Regions from separate parts of the Homo sapiens genome. Here region 2 is linked to region 1. The links are contacts of gene promoters, found by promoter capture Hi-C in blood cells and fetal thymus (Javierre and others, 2016). All regions are on one chromosome and are shown on one strand. Each heading gives the region's core, a stretch centred on a gene start or on the middle of the fragment in contact. The rest is flanking DNA. Distances are from core to core; before and after follow the strand shown.

Region 1 (2,786 bases), core at 175-2,674:
GAAAGAGACCACCCGTGACAGAAAAGGAGGAATTAAAAAAAAAAAAAACCTCCACAACAGACTGCACAATTAACTGTACACATCGATGTTGGACTTTGTGAATAGAAAAAATTGAGAGGAAAATCTTGAACTATGATGCGAGGCTAAGCTGGGAACAATTACTGGAAACCTGATTTTGTTTTTCCTTTTCCAAGACTCTGAAAAATTTCGGGGTACCTCTCGCCTAACCAAGAGGAAAGGTTTAAAAAAAATAAACAAAATAAATAAACCAATACACCTAGCAAAGCAGACGCCTTGTTTTCCAGAACCTCGGACTCCGGCAGAAAGAGGTAGAGTAAAAGTGCTGCTAGATTCAGCTTCACCTTCTTCCCTCCATCCTTTTCTCTTGCATTTTCTTTTTCCCCAAAAACATGAATCTGGTTTTTCTTTCTATAGACTGAGTCAGAGAAAGCGTTAGGAAGAAGCCGCAACTAATGTCTGTGAAGGGAGGACCATGAGGCGAGAGTGAATACGATTCGTTCCGCTGCTTCTGACTCATCCGGCAGATCGGAACACCTGCATTTCTGGATGTGTCATTCCCGTATGTCGAGGCGCCTCCAGAACCCGAAATAATGTGTAGACAGACCTGTGTCTAACATCCCCTCGGAGGGAGCTCCCCGGGGTAGGAGCCCCTGGCTGGACCGCCGCGGCCGCAGCTCTGCACCCCCTGCCCTCCCTGAGTCGCCCAGAAAAACTGAAAGAGAGACTGCAGAATGCATCACGCCAAACCTTGATGTGTTGCTTTCATCCAGCCCACTCCTCCTACTATAAGAGAAAATTGAAGGAAAAAAAAAAACACGTACTTTATTTGCTTCAAATATTCATCACTTTTATTCCTCGCCAAGGTTTTCTTTTCTAGATGAAGAGGACTGGGAGGCAGGGCTATTGGAAGGAGATGCTGAATAGAAAGAAAAGAGGCACTTGACAGCCCAGCCCTGTGAATGCAGAGACTGTTTCCCTTCTAGCGAGAGACAGGGAGAGTGTGTGTGCAAGGACTGGGAGGGAGGCTCCCCCTTCCTTTTTATTCGGCCTCCCCCCTCCTCCTTTAAATGTGCACGTCCAACCATGAGTTGCCTGTTGATTTCCCTTCGCCTGGGAAGAAAAGCAAACTGGAATTAAACTGCTTGGAGAGAAGTCCTTGCTCGCGGGGAGAGGATGGGATGGTAGCGGAGGCTACTGGCTTGGCGTAGAGAAATCAGAGAGTGTGTTCTACGAACAGAGGCGAAGATTTATCTCTCTACTTCCCCCCTCCCAATAGACTCACACAGCAAATGCTGATCAGGCTGTGGCTTTCTTGATTTCGGGGGAGAGCCTTTTCCGAGGAAGAGAGGGAGGAGCCTGGTGGGGAGAGGAAACTACAAATCGGGACACTAGTTCTTTACGCTGCATTTCCTCCCCTCCCTTTGGCTGCTCGGAAAGGAGAGAGAGGAAAAAAAAAATACGCTTGGCTGGTAGATGCAGTCCGCCGCCGCCGCTGCCTCAGCCAGCAATGCAAGATTAGATCTCTAAATGCAGCAAAACACTGCCTGAAAACAGACCGGCCCGCGCAGCAAGCAGACATTTCACGGTGCGCTGGGGAAGCTTCAAAATATATCTGTGACTCTGTCTTCGTTGCTCTTCATCCCCATCAATTTCATCACGGGAGGCGAGCAGCAAGTAAGAATTTCACTTTCGGATCTGCCTAGAGACACACCTCCCTGCTCCCTCCCCCACTCGATGTGAAGAGTATTCCGGAGTCTCCGGGCGGGAGTAGATTTGCAGCACCCTAGCGGGAGCGAGGAAAACCTACTGATTCTTTAGCTCATTATCATCTCTCCCAGACGAGATTTCCTTCTTATCGCCTGCCTCATCGCTCAAGTTTGAGCCTCCCGAAGTCCGGGCGGGAGAGACGAAACCCCTGGCTCACCCCCAGCCGCAGGAAGCCACCGCCTTGCTCCAAGCCCCTGCAGCTCTGCTGCACCGCAGCTTCTCACCCAGTGCGGATGCTGTAGATCAACAGGTTCAGGGAACTTGAGCAGAATAAGGAGAGACCACCGGGTGCCGCAGCTCGGGTGCAGAGGGAAAAAAGGACCCATAGACTTGTGGCTCGCGTCGCGCGCGCACGCTGCGCCAGGGCCCCAGGCTGGCGCGCACTCCCTCTCTGGCTCCTCCAGTCCGATTGCTCCTGCCCCCACCTTACAGGTCTGGGATGTACCTTTCCATCTGTTGCTGCTTTCTTCTATGGGCCCCTGCCCTCACTCTCAAGAACCTCAACTACTCCGTGCCGGAGGAGCAAGGGGCCGGCACGGTGATCGGGAACATCGGCAGGGATGCTCGACTGCAGCCTGGGCTTCCGCCTGCAGAGCGCGGCGGCGGAGGGCGCAGCAAGTCGGGTAGCTACCGGGTGCTGGAGAACTCCGCACCGCACCTGCTGGACGTGGACGCAGACAGCGGGCTCCTCTACACCAAGCAGCGCATCGACCGCGAGTCCCTGTGCCGCCACAATGCCAAGTGCCAGCTGTCCCTCGAGGTGTTCGCCAACGACAAGGAGATCTGCATGATCAAGGTAGAGATCCAGGACATCAACGACAACGCGCCCTCCTTCTCCTCGGACCAGATCGAAATGGACATCTCGGAGAACGCTGCTCCGGGCACCCGCTTCCCCCTCACCAGCGCACATGACCCCGACGCCGGCGAGAATGGGCTCCGCACCTACCTGCTCACGCGCGACGATCACGGCCTCTTTGGACTGGACGTTAAGTCCCGCG
Region 2 (3,001 bases), core at 13-2,512, 680 kb after region 1:
CTTTCAGACACAGCTATTTCTAAAGCTGTTTACAAAGAGGCATAGACTATATCTTGATGATCACACACGGTTAAAAGCTCTCATTTTGAGATGGAAACATGTGCAATGCTCTATGAATCATTATTATTCATGATAGTAATAATAGCACTACCATCCAATGAAACAATAGCAATAATGGCTTTGGTTTATTCTTTGCAACTTAAAATGACTCATCCAATTATCAGAATAGCTAATAAATACTTGTAAAATACATGTTAATTTAGTCTGCTAATAAAAAATGCTATATAAGTGTACCGTAATCATATAACAATACCAGTGCTGTGTTCACAAGTTAATGAATAATGAACTACTTTTTAAAATGACCTCAATCTTAATTTTTAAAATTGGGTTTAGAGGTTTTTTTACTTCTTTTAATTCATATAAGAAAAGGCCAAAACTAAAAATTAGTTTTATACTCAAGTGCAATGCATTAAAAATTGAATTTTCACACTTTGGAATTGGGGACTTAACTGCTATTGAAAATAGCATTAATATGATAATGATATGCTAAAAGAAAATATTTCATTCTGTATTTCTTCTAGCTTAACTGCATATGATTTTCTTTACTTTTACTGCCCATTATGCATAGGTGATAGCCTCAAATCCTTTTAATGAATCAGTGATACAGTGGTCACTATATTGTTCTAAATATATTGACAACCTGAGCTGTCACGAAAGTTATATGCATTCTCTGAGTCTTTGGCAGAAGCAAAGATGAAAAAGACATTGCCAAGAAGCTTATAGTCAAGAGAAAGAGAGAGGAGTATAAAATCATTCAGATGCACAGCATATTTGAACCCTTTCCATCATAGAGGCCCCATTTATAACCTGAAACATTTTGTAACACCTCTTCCCTTTCTCCTAAAATTTGTTTACACCTCAAGGCTACCCTGGAGTCATCACTGTCCAGACATGGACTCCTGTCCTCTTTTGTTTTCTCTCTTATCTTACTTACATCTTTTTTATTCCTCAAATTGACAGCAGCTGCTCTCTTAGGAAGCAATACTCCTTCTTTTTCAAAAAGTAAAAATTCAGAGGAAGTTATCGGACAAATGCAGATTTGTCTTTGGCAGATGGGATAAAAAAAAAAGACAGGAAACCTTTATGCTAAATGATATTGCTATGTTCCGCATGAATAACTTTAATATAATGGTCAAGAGTGAGCATTCTGGGGCCTGGAATGCCTAGGTCCAAGTAGTTGCTCCAAAAATTACACTTTGAACAACCTTGAACACATTTTTAATACTGTACAGTTTTTTGTGTATATGTGTGCATATATAAATTTAATTTAGTAATTGAATGAATGAATATAATATAATGAATATGGGCAAAACAAATGTAATTAATTTAATGATATATTAATATATGTCATTAGTCATTAGTTGATATGAATTAAATATAACAATGATGAATATAATAACAGTATCTAATTCATGACTATTATACAACTTAGATAAGTAATTGTTTGTTAATCCTCAGTATAGTGTTGATCACACAGTAACTGTTCAGTAAATATTTGCTGTAATTTTTAATTACTGTTGCTATCCTGGCTTAATTCCTAAATTTATTTTCGGACTAGCTAACAAACAAACTATTGAAAATTATTGTTTCACATTTTTTAATGAATGCCATTTTTAATGCCATTTTTAATGAATTTGATGACTACAAAAATATACTAGGCATTTAAATAGTCAAATTAGTTACTTTTGATAAGCTTTTGTTTTCTAAATATGTAATAACATTTCATAGTGAAAGTCTATCATATACAAGATGACTTGTATAAAATATTACTTTTATAAGTTAAAATCCAAAAAATGAATATATCAATATCATTTTACACTGACTGCACTTCAGAGTCAAAAGGAGAGCTTAAAAAAGGACTGATGACCAGGCCCTGTCACCATATAGTCTGATTCAGTTGGTCTGAGGACAAATTTGGCATATGTATTTTTTTACCCTCCTTAAATATTACCACCATATAGCCAAGGTAAAATAATCCACAAGCATATAATTATTTCATAGAATTTCAGCCCTGAAAGTGTCTTTAAAAATTGTATCCTCTAAATTTCTCAATAACACAGACTCAGCATATATTTGAATATCTCTAACGATAGAAAAATTACTGCTCAAGCAGCCCATTCTCTGTAAGCTGGAATAAAAAATCCTTATTTTGAGCAAAAATTAAGGCATATATTCCATGTTGACCAATAAAAATATTTTTGCTTTTTCATATGTTGATATTTCATGTATATAAAACAATGAACAATGTTCATTGTTCCACTGTGCCTAACCACATTTTCCTCACAAGGCTAAACTTCCCAAACTCTTCCTAGTAACACTTAGTTGCACTTAGTCCACATCACCCTTTTCCTTTATCAGTGTGTCACTCAAAACTCAGCACGGAGTAAGGTGTGATTCTCATTGTATGTATTATCTGTCTACTAAAGCAGTGGAAAGGTATATTAATTTTAAGGTACTCATAACCCCATTTTATAATTTTTACATACATCCTGCTACTAAATAAAATGTTGACTATATTAGTTAGGGATTGCTGCGTGCCAAATTACTCCTAAAACTAAGCAGCTAGAAACATTTGTTTTAAAAACATTTTTATGTAATGACAAAAATATTGACTATATCTCACAATTTCTGAAGATCAGGATCCTCCAAGTGACTTCAGTTTTTGTCATGTGGGCCTTCCTACAGGGCTGCCTCATGACATGGCAGCTGGCTTCCTCCAGAGTAAGTGATGCAAGAAAAAACCAGCACCCAAAACTGGACTTCCTATTTTTAAAAAGCTTAATAACAGAAGTGGCTTACCATCACTGCTGTCATCTTATAGTGATTAGAGGAAAGTCATTAAGACTAAGACACTCACGAGGAGGGGAATTAAGCTTTACTACTTAAATAGGTGAGTATCAAAGAATTTGTGCTTATAATTTTAAAACTATTACCACAATGA

What was found. The method cuts DNA at HindIII sites, captures the fragments that hold promoters and counts their contacts. A CHiCAGO score of 5 or more calls a contact.
Region 2: a fragment that was not itself captured here is called in contact with the fragment with the promoter of PCDH17 in region 1 in 1 of 17 cell types (M2 macrophages); the score reaches 6.0 in M2 macrophages.

What each region holds. Positions count from the first base shown.
Region 1 is chr13:57,630,320-57,633,105 of GRCh38, forward strand. PCDH17 (protocadherin 17) reads left to right here and starts at 1,425. Exons shown (of 4, transcript NM_001040429.3): 1 at 1,425-2,786. The coding sequence starts at 2,228. RefSeq lists an enhancer at 1,932-2,611. The HindIII fragment of the contact is 2,681 bases long and covers 1-1,618 here.
Region 2 is chr13:58,310,632-58,313,632 of GRCh38, forward strand. No RefSeq gene overlaps it. Among named protein-coding and RNA genes, the nearest start is that of LINC00374, 79 kb to the left of the region's middle. The HindIII fragment of the contact is 977 bases long and covers 775-1,751 here.